Regions from separate parts of the Homo sapiens genome. Here all the other regions are linked to region 1. The links are contacts of gene promoters, found by promoter capture Hi-C in blood cells and fetal thymus (Javierre and others, 2016). All regions are on one chromosome and are shown on one strand. The core of a region is centred on a gene start or on the middle of the fragment in contact, and the rest is flanking DNA. Distances in the headings are between cores, read along the strand shown. Region 1 holds the start of ARAP3 (ArfGAP with RhoGAP domain, ankyrin repeat and PH domain 3). Region 2 has its middle 16 kb from the start of DELE1. Region 3 has its middle 44 kb from the start of PCDH1. Region 4 overlaps PCDH1 (protocadherin 1). Region 5 has its middle 13 kb from the start of PCDH1.

Region 1 (2,761 bases), core at 37-2,536:
TGTGAGGATTAAAGTTTGCAAAGCAATGTTTACATAGATCCTGGAGCACGGTCAGCTCTCAATAATTGGTAGCCCTTATTATGGCTATTGCAATTATTATTTTATTACTATAATTCTCTTTCTCAAAGGGAAGGCCGGGAAAGTGGGGCTCCAGTAGGTTGAAGATGACAGTCCCTCCCCTAGCTGAGGCAGCTGGAAGAGGTGGGAACCACTTCCTCCCACTCCCCTCTTCTTCCCCTGAGGCAGGGGTCTTCCCCTAGCTACTGACAGTTCCTGTGTCTGCTGACTCACAGCCAACTTCCTCTCATACAAACAGGAAAACACAGCCGGCCAGCGCCCCCGCCACCCCCAACACATACACACACACACACACACACACACACACACACACACACACACACACACACACAAACACCCCCCCCCCACACCCAAACACTGGTCCTGCTCAGAGAGGGAAGTGCCTCCGCCCCTGGGAGACAGGCTCCAGGACCGGGGTTCCGGCAAGATTAGCGAAGGAGAGAAGGGCCATTCCTCTTCAGGCCTCCCCGGCATCCCCCCTGAAATTTTAGGGTGGGAGTTGGGGAGAAGGGGCGGCTTCTCCCATGAATGAAACAGCTGCTTGCTTGGTCACTGAGCTTGCAGGGCGTCCGCCTGTCCCAAAAAGGCAGCCCCAAACCTTGGTTTGGAAGTAGGGATGTGCCTTGCGGACCTTCATCCCTCGAAGGAACCTAGGCCGGGCCCTTGGGGATGGAAGTGGGGAGAAACAGACGGGTACCCCTCTGCTGGGCCTCTGCGCTTGTTGCCCAGGCCAAGTCTCAATTCTGGATGTCCAGCTTCCGTCCCCACACTAAACTGGTTGCCAGGGTCCAGCCACCCTTCCGGGCGTGGGAGAGGTGCCCTGGGGGATTAGGGCTCGACCTTTCCTCCTCCCTTTTGGCAGGACTGGAGGGCATGGGAGCAGCGGAGAGGATGCAAAGCCGTCCCTGGCACTCTCCCTTTCTCAGTTTCTACCTCCGTCCCAGTCTCCGTCCCGGTCTCTGCCTCTTTGTCCCTCTCCCTGAGGTTGTCTTCGTCCCAACGTGTTCTGGTCCTTTCTCGGCCTGCGAGAGGGCAGACTGGGGGCAGACTCGGAGATAAGCGCGGCGGTTGGGCAAGAAGCCCAAACCCTTTGGAGGCCTGCGCTTGCACAAGGAGTGGCCGGGGCCCCGCGGAGGGAACCGGCCGGGCGGGGCGGGGCTGGGCCCGTCGAGGGAGGGCAGAGGGGAGGCGGGGCCGGCGCGGCGGGACCCAGAACCTCGGACGAGCGGCGGGCACCCGCGAGCGGACGGCGGCCGCGTAGTGAGGTGAGGACCCCCGCGCCCCCCGGGTCCCTGCTTCCCAGACTCCTCCCCATCACCTTCTCGAGGGCCTTCGTGGGCTCCCAGGCCCCCTCGGCGCCGGCGGCCCTCCCCATCCCTGCCACGACCCGCCCCTCCCTCCTGCTGCCCGGCCTCTGCCCCATCCCTCCTCGCCCCCTCCCTCGTCGCAGCCTGCGCTGCCCGCCACTGCCCGCCCCGCCCCCGCCACTCCTGTCCCGCGAGCACCTCAGCTCCCAGCCCCGTGCTGTCGAGCCCGGCCTGAGTCACCGGGAAACCGGGCCCTGAGTCAGGGCCCGAGGCTCAGCACGCGGGCCCTGGCTTGGGAATGAGGCCCAGCTGGAGAGAGGCAGAGGGAGGCCAGCAGTGATGCTGGGACGGAGAGGGCGTCCTGGTCACCGACAGAGCACAAGAGTAACAGGGAGAGAGCCTAGGCCGAGGCGGAAGACAGAAACCCAGGCTCAGAGGCAGACAGAGACACAGATACAACTCAAGATCTGGTTAGAATTGTAGACTGAGTCAAGGACAAGCTTAATAACAGAGAGCAAAACAGGGTGGGACAAGGAGAGGGACAAAGAAGAATTGAGAGGTTGAGATGGAATGGGGCAGGGACAGTGACAAGGCAGAGATAAAACTCAGGGGCCACAGAATTAGAGACAGGTCTATGAAATAGACCAGGGTCAGGGTCGGGGTCAGGCTGGTGGAAGGGGGACAGAGCACAGAGACCTGAGCCCAAGGGAATGAGCAGGGAAAAGGCAAGCTCAGAAAAGGAAGGCTTGGAGAAAGCAGAGGTGGGGGGATGGCATTTCACACTGCCAAATCGCTACAGGGCATGTGCACACACAGGTGAACAGCATGTGAACATGCTGCCGGTGGGCAGAGAGTCCAGAAGCCTCTGGAGTACCCCTGACCAGAGGTCAGGCCTCATCTCTCTGGCATCCCCATCCTTATTCTTCAATTAGCCTCCACCCAGGGCCGGGACCCCACACATTAGGACTGGTTAGGGCTCTCCCGGCAGCCTGACCAAAGCAGGCAGGATGTGGAGGCGGCCAGGGCTGGAGGGACAGGAAGGAAGTCTGAGCAGAGACAATAGGTGGAAGGGGAGGAGGGACTGGGAACAACCAGGATTAGGACGGCAGGCCTGCATACATCGGCTCTGGAAACAAGAGGGAGGGGGCGTCTGCACCTCCTTCCTCCTATCTAGGCTGCCCCTCTCCCTACCTTACTCCAGAGCTGATTGGCCACATCATTGGCCCCTCCTCTGCATCTCCCTATCCCACTCTGACCCACAGCATTCTAGCATCTTGTCCCATGCTTACTCAGTTGGATGTGCAGTCAGGCAGGAGCAGAGCTTTGACCCAGACCCAGGGTGGGCAGGAACTGAGGGGCCAACTCTAGCACTGACT
Region 2 (2,700 bases), core at 84-2,583, 230 kb before region 1:
TCATTTATTTTTATTGCTAAATAATATTCTATTGTGTGGGTATACCACATTTTGTTTATCCATTCATCCATTGATGGATATTTGGGTTGTTTCCATCTTTTGGCTATTGTGAATATTGCTACTGTGAATATTTATATACAAGTATTTGAGTACCTACTTTCAAGTCTCTTGGGTATACCCCTACGAATGAAACTGCTGGGTCATACGGCAATTCTATGTTTAACATTTTAAGGAACCACCAACTGTTTTCCACAGTGGCTGTACCATTTTATGTTCCCATCAGGAAGGCCCAAGGGTTTCAGTGTCCCCACATTCTTGCCAATACTTGTTCTTTTCCTTAATTATAGCCATCACAGTGGGTATAAAGTGGTATCTCATTGTAGTTTTGATTTGCATTTCCGTAATGACTAATGATGTTGAGCATCTTTTCATGTACTTTTTGGCCATTTATATGTCTTCTTTAGAGAAATGTCTATTCAAGTCCTTTGCTCATTTAAAAAATTGAGTTATCTAGGCCAGGCAGGGTGCTCACACCTGCAATCCCAGCACTTTGGGAGGCCAAAGAGTGTGGATCACTTGAGCCCAAGAGTTTGAGACCAGCTGGGGCAACATGGCAAAACCCCATCTCTACGAAAAAATACAAAAAATTAGCCTGGCATGGTGGCACCTGTAGTCCCAGCTACTCAGGAGGCTCAGGTGGGAGGATCACTTGAGCCCCAGGAAGGTTGAGGCTGCAATGAACTGTGATCTTTCCACTGTACTCTAGCCTGGGTGACAGAGTGAGACCTTGTCTCAGAAAAAAAGGATTGTCTTTTTGTTATCAAATTATGAGTCCTTTATATATTCTGGATACTAGAAGTTTATTGGATATGTGATTTGCAAATTGACAAATGAAATGAAAAGTGTCTTTTCACTTTCTTGAAGATGTTCTCTGATGCATGAAAGTTTTTAATTTTGCTGAAGTCCAGTGTATCCATACTTACTTTTTGTTGCATGTGGTTTTGATATCATGTTTAAGAAACCATTGCCAGGCCGAGCGTGGTGTCTCATGCCTGTAATCCCAGCACTTTGGGAGGCTGAGGCGGGCAGATCACCTAAGGTCAGGAGTTCGAGACCAGCCTGGCCAACATGGTGGAACCCTGTCTCTACTAAAAAATATAAAAATTAGCCGGGCGTGATGGCCGGCACTTTGCTCCCAGCTACTTGGGAGGCAGAGGCAGGAGAATCGTTTGAACCCGGGAGGCGGATGTTGCAGTGAGCCGAGATTGAGCCATTGCACTCAAGCCTGGGGGATGAAAGCAAGACCGCTCTCAAAAAAAAAAAAAAAAAAAAAAGAAACCATTGCCAAATCCAAAGTCATGAATATTTACCCTTATGTTTTCTCCTAAAGGTTTTACACTTTTTGCTCTTACATTTAGGTATTTGATACATAATGAGTTCAAAATTTTTGTTTGTTTTTTGTTTTTGTTTTAGGCCACTAAGTTTGTGGTAATTTGTTACATAGCAATAGAAAGCTAATACAGGACCAGAGCAAGAAAAGTTTCTGAAGCTATTGCAGGTATGATATAAGCTGCTTTCCTGCTTGGGCCTTATGACCCAGCAGATTCAACAGTGCTCCAAATGTCTATTGCAGATAGGAATGCTGGTGAACCATCTGGGAATCCCTGATAGAGGAATCATGACGTAGACTCCTAGAGTTTTGTATTGCAGCTATGTCTTTTTACACAAATAACTCATTCACACTTTGAAAAAATAAAATATACAGCTCCTGGGCTTGTTCCTGGGCTCTGGTGGAGACCAAATGCCTGACCTAGGATGCCAAGTGAACATGTAGCATTTACCCATTTATCATAAGGGGTATTTTAAAGATGAACAGCCAGATGGAGAGATGGATAGGTCAAGCCATGTGGGAAGGGGCATAGAGCTTTCATACATCTCTAGGCATGCCACCTTCCCTCCAAGTATCTTCATGTGTTCAGCTATCCAGAAGCTCCTTAGTGAGTTAATATTTGTATATGGTACGAGGTAAGGGGTCCAACTTTCTTCTTTGTTCTTCTTTCTTTCTCCTTCTTCTTCCTTCTTCTTCCTCCTTCTTTCTCTTCCTCCTCCTCCTCTTCCTTCCTCTTCTTCTTCTCCTCCTTCTCCTTCTTCTTCCTTTTTTGTATGTGGATATCCAGTTGTCCCAGCACTATTTGTTGAAGACACTATTTTTTGCCCATTGAATGCTCTTGGCACCCTTGTCAAAAATCAATTGACCCCATAGCTGTATTAGTATATTTTTGGACTCTCAATTCTATTTCGTTGATATATATCTCTCTATCCTTTATGCTACTATCACACTATTTTGATTACTGTAGCTTTGTAATACGTTTTGAAATCAGGAAGTGTAAGTCTTCCAGCTTTGTTCTTCTTTTTCAAGATTGCTTTGGCTATTTGGGGTCCGCTGCAATTCCATTTGAATTTAAGGATTGGCTTTTCCATTTCTGCATTGAGTCAAAAGCTCTGAAGGTAAAGCCAAGGAATCTGCTTTTTTTAAAAAAAATAAGTTTTGATTGTGAGTAAAATACACACAACATAAATTTTACCACTTTAACCATTTCTAAATGTACAGTTAAGTACATTCACATTTTTATGCAGTCAATACCCAGAACTTTTTCATCTTGCAAAACTGAAACTATACCCATTAAACAACCCCCCTTT
Region 3 (2,784 bases), core at 167-2,666, 150 kb before region 1:
TTTCCCTTGGAGGGCGTCCTGGTCCCAGGGATGTGGAAGCGGGCCACTTCAGGCACAGCTGTTCAGAGGCATATATTCCCCATCCCCATTGCCTCCTTCCGCACCCTGGCCAGGCCTGAGGGCAAAGGGAATCCAGGAGCTATATCATCTAAGATTCCCCATGGGTTTCCACGGAAAGGGAGGCTCTCCAGTGGTCTAAAGGGACTCCAGCCCTGACCTGCGCCACATCCTCAGTGTGACAGAAAGACTAGGATCAAATCACCCTGGACTTTGGAGACAGTCATTCCCATACTGGGCCATATGGACTTCTGGCTGGAATTTATGTAACTGCTCAATCATAGTACATTTGGAGACCTCACAAATTATAGTAATAATTAATTAGAAGAACTATGGCTAACATTTTTCAAGCACTTACTATGCGCCAGACCTGGGCCAAATACTTCACATGCATCATTCTCACTTGGTCCTGTAAGGAACTTCCTTTTATCATCCCTAACTTCTGGGTAAGGAAACTGAGGCCTGGATCGCTCACAGAGCTGGCCCTAGGTCACACCAGTAAATGGCAAAGCTGAGACTTGAACTCAGGTCTGCTTGACTCCACAGCCTAACCTCTGTGCCAGGTTCCCCTTAACCTCTGTGCTTGTGCCAGGGCATGACGATGTGGAACCCTGCTGAGAGACATCTGAAAAGCAACTGTGGTCTCAGGCTCAGGTGGGCACCACTCATGTCCTGGGGATAGAAGTCTACTGGGAAGCTGAGGTTTCTTTCTGTGCCACATGGAAGAGTCAGCGGGCATGACACATGGGGTCAGACGATCCCTGGCTCCTTCCACACCCCACTGCACAGCCTCAGGAAGGCAGCAGCGGCCAGCTGTAGGGTCTCTGGGAAGTTGCCCCGTCAGCCTCATCCCTAGCTCCTCATCCCCAGCTGACTGGCGTCCTGACTGCCAGCCTACAGGCCTGATTGGCCCTTGCCAACCCCAGCCATGCAGACTTCCAGACAGCAGAAGTCCTGTTTTCTTCCATTTCCTTCTCAGGGAGGAGGAAAGGAGTGCTGGGCAGGGCAGGCAGCCCGGACAGGGCCCCAACCACAGCATTGTCAAGGAGACAAAGAACTGACCAGAACCTGCCCCTCTTGTCAGCATCTTTGGGTCTCTTCCGAGCCTTTGTCAGCCCAGCACTTCTGCTGTTCCCCCACACCTGGCTTTTGCATCCTAGGGAAGAATCAGTTCTTCCTCTTAGGCCCACAGGAGCTGTCCAGCTCTTCCTATACATGAGCAATCCCACTCAAGAGCATATATTTTGAATTACAGCCTTTTTTGGTTTAGACAAAATTTATCACATGCAAATTAGGTGGTGTGCCTGGAGGATCCCACCATTAAAGTTTATGTATATATGTTGAGTGTAGTAGGGGTCACTCAAGGGACCCCTTAGACATGTTGCCCATGAGAATACTAATGCTAACATTACCGGCTACCATTTATTATCAGCCACAAGCCTGACACTGTGCCAAGCCCTTTACATGCATTCTTTTTTTTTTTTGAGATGGAGTCTCATTCTGTCACCCAGGCTGGAATGCAATGGCACAATCTCGGCTCACTGCAAGCTCCACCTTCAAGTGATTCTCTTGCCTTAGCCTCCCGAGTAGCTGGGATTACAGGCGTGTGCCACCACGCCCGGCTAATTTTGTATTTTTAGTAGAGATGGGGTTTCTCCATGTTGGTCAGGCTGGTCTCAAACTCCCAACCTCAGGTGATCCACCCGCCTTGGCCTCCCAAAGTGCTGGGATTACAGGCGTGAGCCACTGCGCCCAGCCTCATGCATTCTTATTTAATACTCAACAACCTTATGAGTTAGGTGCTGCTTGTCTTCACTTTACAGAGGAGAAAACTGAGACCAAAGTCTCAGTAAGTAGATGAGCCAGGATTTGAACCCAGACCTATAGCATGTAGGGCTTTGTTTTCCCTCCCTCCCTCCCTTCCTTCCTTCCTTTCTCCCTCCCTCCCTTCCTCCCTCCTTCACTCCTCCTTATTTTTCTTTCTTTCTTTTCTTTTTTCTTTCTTTCCTTTCTTTTTTCTTTCTTTCTTTCCTTCCTTCCTTTTCTTCCTTTTTTTTTTTTTTTTTTGAGACAGGGTCTTGCTCTGTTGCTCAGGCTGGAGTGCAGTGACATCACCATGATTCACTGTAGCCTTGAACGCCCCCACCCCCACAGGCTCAAGAGATCTTCCTGCCTCAGGCTCCCAAATAGCTGGGACCACAGGCATGCGCCACCACACCCAGCTAATTTTTAAAATTTTTGTAGCAAGACAGAATCTTGCTATGTTGCCCAGGCTGGTCTTGAACTCCTGGACTCAAGCAATCCTCCTGCCTCAGCCTCCCAAAGTGCTAGGATTACAGGCATGAGCCACTGTGCACAGCCACATGGGCTTTCTTCTGGTCATTCCGCTCTTGGCTGGTTGGCCCTTGTGCATGCCCCACCAGTGCACATGCCCATCTGATAAAGTTGGTAGCATTTCCTGAAACTCTAAAACTGCTCCAGGCAGTTCTGAGGAGATAAGACATGTCCTGCAACCTGGGTTGGGCTTTGCTTTAAGCCTCTAATTGGCTGCTAGCCAGCACCTGCCTGACTCTACCAAACTCTTCTGATCAATAACTAGTGGATGCTTTTACACTCGTGAAGCATGGTTAAGTCCATCTTATTATGGCAACTCCTGATAGTTTCCCCCACCAAAGAATCCCTTCACCTCTTTCACGTTTGTCAGTTGAGCTACTAATTTATATGCTC
Region 4 (2,700 bases), core at 81-2,580, 170 kb before region 1:
CACCTGTCTGAGGGCAGATTTGGTGGGTGTGTAAGAAGAGCACTGGGGGGTAGGTGACGCTGGAAGGAATGTGTCTATTTAGGGCTTGGTGGCTCATGCCTGTAATTCCAACACTCTGGGAGGCTGAGGCAGGCGGATTGCTTGAACTCAGGAGTTCAAGACCAGCCTGGGCAACATGGCTTAAACCCCATCTCTACAAAAAAATATAAAAAATTAGCCAGGCATGGTAGTGCATGCCTATAGTCACAGATATTTGGGAGTCTGAGGTGGGAGGATTGCCTGAGCCTGGGAAATTGAGGCTGCAGTGAGCCAAGATCACACCACTGCACTCCAGCCTGGGTGACAGGAGTGAGACCCTGTCTTGAAAAAAAAAAGGATAAGGCTGGGTGCGGTGGCTCATGCTTGTAATCCCAACACTTTGGGAGGTCAAGGTGGGTGGATCACCTGAGGTCAGGAGTTCAAGACCAGCCTGGTCAACCTGGTGAAACCCCATCTCTACTAAAAATCCAAAAATTAACCAGATATGGTGGTGGGCGCCTGTAATCCCAGCTACTCGGGAGGCTGAGGCAAAAGAATTGCTTGAACCCGGGAGGTGGAGGTTGCAGTAAGCCGAGATTGCGCCATTGCACTCCAGCCTGGGTGACAAGAGCAAGACTCCATCTCAAAACAAAGAAAAAGAAAAAGAAAAAAGATAGATTATGTGTGTGTGCGTGTGCGTGTGTACAGTAGGCCAGTAGGTCGATGGTGGGAGGGCATGTGTCTCTTTGAGGGTGTGTGTGCCTGTGAGTTCAGCGGTCAGGAAGGGGCGCATACTCCTGTCCTGAGGTGGGGTGTAGATGCCAGTGGGAGGCCATGAAGCAGAGCTTTGCAGAGGCTGTATGTCTGACAATTGTCCTTCCCCGCTCCCTCCTACAGACCTTCGCCCTTTGCCTGATGTCGCCATGACAGGCACATGTACCCGGGAGTGCAGTGAGTTTGGCCACTCTGACACATGCTGGATGCCTGGCCAGTCATCTCCCAGCCGCCGGACCAAGAGCAGCGCCCTCAAACTCTCCACCTTCGTGCCTTACCAGGACCGAGGAGGGCAGGAGCCTGCGGGCGCCGGCAGCCCCAGCCCCCCGGAAGACCGGAACACCAAAACGGCCCCCGTGCGCCTCCTGCCCTCCTACAGTGCCTTCTCCCACAGTAGCCATGATTCCTGCAAGGACTCGGCCACCTTGGAGGAAATCCCCCTGACCCAGACCTCGGACTTCCCACCCGCAGCCACACCGGCATCTGCCCAGACGGCCAAGCGCGAGATCTACCTGTGAGCCCCCTACTGGCCGGCCGGCCCCCCTCCCCCAGCCGCCGGCCAGCTCCCAAATGGCCCATTCCAGGGCCTCACTCTCCACCCCTTCAGCGTGGACTTCCTGGCCAGGGCCCCAAGTGGGGGTATCACTGACCTCATGACCACGCTGGCCCTTCTCCCATGCAGGGTCCAGGTCCTCTCCCCTCATTTCCATCTCCCAGCCCCCAGGGGCCCCTTCCCCTTTATGGGGCTTCCCCCATCTGATGCCCAAGAGGGCTCCTCTGCAATGACTGGGCTCCTTCCCTTGACTTCCAGGGAGCACCCCCTCGATTTGGGCAGATGGTGGAGTCAAGGGTGGGCAGCGTACTTCTAACTCATTGTTTCCCTCATGGCCGACCAGGGCGGGGATAGCATGCCCAATTTTAGCCCTGAAGCAGGGCTGAACTGGGGAGCCCCTTTCCCTGGGAGCTCCCAGAGGAAACTCTTGACCACCAGTGGCTCCCTGAAGGGCTTTTGTTACCAAAGGTGGGGTAGGGACGGGGGTGGGAGTGGAGCGGAGGCCTTGTTTTCCCGTGCTGCTCCTGGACTGGCCCACCTGCCTGCCACATGCCCACGCCTAGTCCCATCTGGGCCCCCATTCCCTGCTGGTCATGCAGTGTCTGTATATAAGGACCTTGGAATGACGTCCCCATTTCTGCCTGATTTGCAACTTTTCTTGTTGATGTCGTGTTGTCTTGGGGGACCCCTCTGGGGGGGGACCTGCCCTGTGCCCCCTCCTCCCTGCCGCAGTGCCCCCCAACCCAGGCCTCTATTGTTCCATGTTGTAAATACCCCTGGGGCCATGGTGGGATGGGGGTGCAGGCCAGGGAAACAACGGGTGGGTGGGGGTGGGGACGGGGGTAACATTTGCCTATCAGCAGAGCTGGGCTTTTATTTAATTTTTCTTAAAAATACAAATCTCTATTTTTTTGGAACTGTTGCGCTGTGCCCTGGGGGGATCCCCGCTCAGGCTGGCCTCCCACATCCAGATGAGCATCACAGAGGGGCCCTGAGGCTGTGGGGGGCAGCTGGACAGGGGTGGGATGACTGTGCCTCTGGCCTGGTTGGGTGAGTTGGGAGCAGGAAGGTTTGCTCAGGGGGTGGCTGGGTGCTGCTCCCGATATAGGGGGCCTGCATCCTGCCCCCTCCCTGCCCTCTCAACCCCCAGCCCCTGCCATGACTGACCCGTCAGCCTGTAAAACCACCATTGCCTTGATCTCAGGGGGTGGGAGGGCTGCCTCAGGGCACCCTGGGCTCCAGGCCCCCTTCTTCCAGTTGGGCTTCCCTTTGTCAGGGTCAGGGGTCCCATGGGGGAGGGGGTAGGGAGGTTGGGGGGCAGAGAAGCCCAGTCAGCCATGATGAGGTGAAGTTCT
Region 5 (2,700 bases), core at 109-2,608, 210 kb before region 1:
GTGTTTTTAGTAGAGATGGGGTTTCACTGTGTTGCAGGCTGATCTCGAACTCCTGACCTCAGGTAATCCGCCCGCCTCGGCCTCCCAAAGTGCTGGGATTACAGGCGTGAGCCACTGCACCCAGCCAAAACTTTGTCTTTGACAGAGGAGACCAAATTCTAGTTTTGCATCAGTGTACTATTAATGCTAAGGCTAATTTTAAAAATGTCTTCTGAATAAATCTATCCCGTCTCAGATAGCTTTGATCATACCAGATAAGACTCCTTTCCTAAGATTTCCTTCCTCAAACCCATTACAACCATTTAAAAATATCCATCAAGCCGGCCGTGGTGGCTCATGCCTGTAATCCCAGCACTTTGGGAGGCTGAGGCGGGTAGATCACAAGGTCAGGCGTTTGAGACCAACCTGGCCAACATGGTGAAACCCCATCTCTACTAAAAAAATACAAAATGAGCCGGGTGTGGTGGCACACACCTGTAGTCCCAGCTACTTGGGAGGCTGAGGCAGAAGAATCGCTTGTACCCGGGAGGCGGAGGTTGCAGTGAGCTGAGATCATGCCACTGCACTACAGCCTGGATGACGGAGTGAGACTCCATCTCAAAAACAAACAAAAAATATATATATATATCCATCAACATTTCTTTCCCTACATTTTTCTCTTTCTCATTCTGGGAAGATCAGTCATTCTACTTTATGGCAGAATTAATTACTCGTTTTTCCCCTAACAGAAAAACACATCCTCATGCCTTATAATTTTCCTTACCAACAATGTATCTTATTTTCCTTGCATTATTTGCATACAGAGTTGTTACACTTATAATTTCTAATAGTTTTAATTCCATATATTAATTTGAATTTTAAATTTTAGTATCCTTAATTTCTAGTGAAAACTAAGAAGTAAGCAATTGTGAACTGTCACATACCAACATTCTGTAGATTAACACCATTTCATAATTTCTAGAAATACATGCATCTCCATAATACAATTTTTCAATGTGGCACAGAACATTTTTACTGAGACCCAAATATATTTCGTTCTTCTGAAATAAGAAGCAAAAGTAGATAAACTCATGTTCAGTGATTAATGTTTCAGCATTATATCTTACATAGAAATGACCCATTTGATAAATGTTTGTTACTCATTTTAATTTAGTATAACTTTAAGCTTGAAGTTGCCAAAAAAATTTTGGAATTATTTTTAACTGGAAATGTTTTATAAAACGTAATTGTTGTTGGAAAAGATTATTTATAAGCTTTTATCCCACTTATATCTCATTTAATTCACTTGTTCTTAACAATTATGCTTGAATTAAATTACTCATGAAAATTTCATGAGACATTAAACAAAGCTAGCCACCATCTTAAGTTATTTTTCTTGTTGACAAATTAGGCAAGTATCAAAAATACCACAGAAGCAAAGAAACTAAAAGTTAAATATATAAGTGGAGATAATATAAGCTTGTTTGACTAGTAAACCCAAGTGGAAAAAAATGTATGCCTGCATTATATTTAATGCTAACAATTCTGAAGACGTTTCTGATTTTCTTTTACGAACAATTTAAAAACTAATCTTATTTCTTGAAAATTTACCCAAGTTGGCGAGGCGTGGTGGCTCACGCCTGTAATCCCAGCACTTTGGGAGGCTGAAGCGGGCAGATCGCGAGGTCAAGAGTTCAAGACCAGCCTGGCCAACATAGTGAAACCATGTCTCTACTACAAATACAAAAAATTAGCTGGGCTTGGTAGCAGGCACCTATAATTCCAGCTACTTGGGAGGCTGAGGCAGGAGAGTCGCTTGAACCCGGGAGGCAGAGGTTGCAGTGAGCTGAGATAGTGCCATTGCACTCCAGCCTAGGCAGCAAGAGTGAAACTCTGTCAAAAAAAAAAAAAAAGAAAGAAAGGAAAAAAGAAAGAAAGAAAGAAAGAGAAAGAGAGAGAGGAAGGAAGGAAGGAAGGAAGGAAGGAAGGAAGGAAGGAAGGAAGGAAGGAAGAAAATTTACCCAAGTCATCTAAACTCAAAAAAGCTTGGGGTTAGTTTCTGTTTCTTTCTTTTTTTTCAGAGACAGAGAGAGAGATGAGGCCACTATGTTGCCCAGGCTGGTCTTGAACTACTGGACTCAAGGAATTCTCCAAGAGATTCTCCTGCCTCAGCTTCTGAAGTAGTTGAGACTGCAGGATCATGCCACTACACCTGGCTTAGACTCTACATTTCTGAGAGTTTTAGGAATACTTTATACAAGCACTCATTTATTTCCAGACCAATTTGAGTAGAATTCCTTTAAGGAATTTTATAAATAAATGTGATAATACTATCCAGAGGTAGGAAAAATACCAGCTATGCATAACATACAAATACATATACATATGTAAACATATGGACAGATGGCAAAGATCTTACAGGTTTTTTTTTTTTTTTGAGACGAAGTCTCGCTCTGTCACAAGGCTGGAGTGCAGTGGCACAATCTCGGCTCACTGCAACCTCTACCTCCCTGGTTCAAGCGATTCTCCTGCCTCAGCCTCCCGAGTAGCTGGGACTACAGGCGCATGCCACCACACCCAGCTAATTTTTGTATTTTTAGTAGAGACAGGGTTTCACCATGTTGGCCAGGATGGTCTCGATCTCTTGACCTCGTGATCCGCCCACCTCGGCCTCCCAAAGTGCTGAGATTACAGGTGTGAGCCACTGTGCCCAGCCGATCT

The links. Contacts are between HindIII fragments. The CHiCAGO score rates a contact against its expected background, and 5 or more counts as called.
Region 2: a contact is called between a fragment that was not itself captured here and the fragment with the promoter of ARAP3 in region 1, in 5 of 17 cell types (fetal thymus, endothelial precursors, megakaryocytes and 2 more). The highest score is 6.5, in fetal thymus.
Region 3: a contact is called between a fragment that was not itself captured here and the fragment with the promoter of ARAP3 in region 1, in 1 of 17 cell types (M0 macrophages). The highest score is 5.4, in M0 macrophages.
Region 4: a contact is called between a fragment that was not itself captured here and the fragment with the promoter of ARAP3 in region 1, in 1 of 17 cell types (endothelial precursors). The highest score is 5.2, in endothelial precursors.
Region 5: a fragment that was not itself captured here is called in contact with the fragment with the promoter of ARAP3 in region 1 in 12 of 17 cell types (total B cells, endothelial precursors, megakaryocytes and 9 more); the score reaches 8.8 in total B cells.

What each region holds. Positions count from the first base shown.
Region 1 is chr5:141,680,755-141,683,515 of GRCh38, reverse strand. It overlaps ARAP3 (ArfGAP with RhoGAP domain, ankyrin repeat and PH domain 3), which reads left to right and starts at 1,286. Exons shown (of 33, transcript NM_022481.6): 1 at 1,286-1,343. RefSeq lists a silencer at 1,237-1,286. The HindIII fragment of the contact is 6,366 bases long and covers 1-1,887 here.
Region 2 is chr5:141,906,100-141,908,799 of GRCh38, reverse strand. No RefSeq gene overlaps it. Among named protein-coding and RNA genes, the nearest start is that of DELE1, 16 kb to the left of the region's middle. The HindIII fragment of the contact is 3,655 bases long and covers 1-2,700 here.
Region 3 is chr5:141,832,977-141,835,760 of GRCh38, reverse strand. No RefSeq gene overlaps it. Among named protein-coding and RNA genes, the nearest start is that of PCDH1, 44 kb to the left of the region's middle. The HindIII fragment of the contact is 4,346 bases long and covers 1-2,784 here.
Region 4 is chr5:141,852,652-141,855,351 of GRCh38, reverse strand. It overlaps PCDH1 (protocadherin 1), which reads left to right. Exons shown (of 5, transcript NM_032420.5): 5 at 916-2,262. The coding sequence ends at 1,310. Among named protein-coding and RNA genes, the nearest start is that of PCDH1, 24 kb to the left of the region's middle. The HindIII fragment of the contact is 3,137 bases long and covers 1-2,700 here.
Region 5 is chr5:141,889,883-141,892,582 of GRCh38, reverse strand. No RefSeq gene overlaps it. Among named protein-coding and RNA genes, the nearest start is that of PCDH1, 13 kb to the right of the region's middle. The HindIII fragment of the contact is 205 bases long and covers 1,256-1,460 here.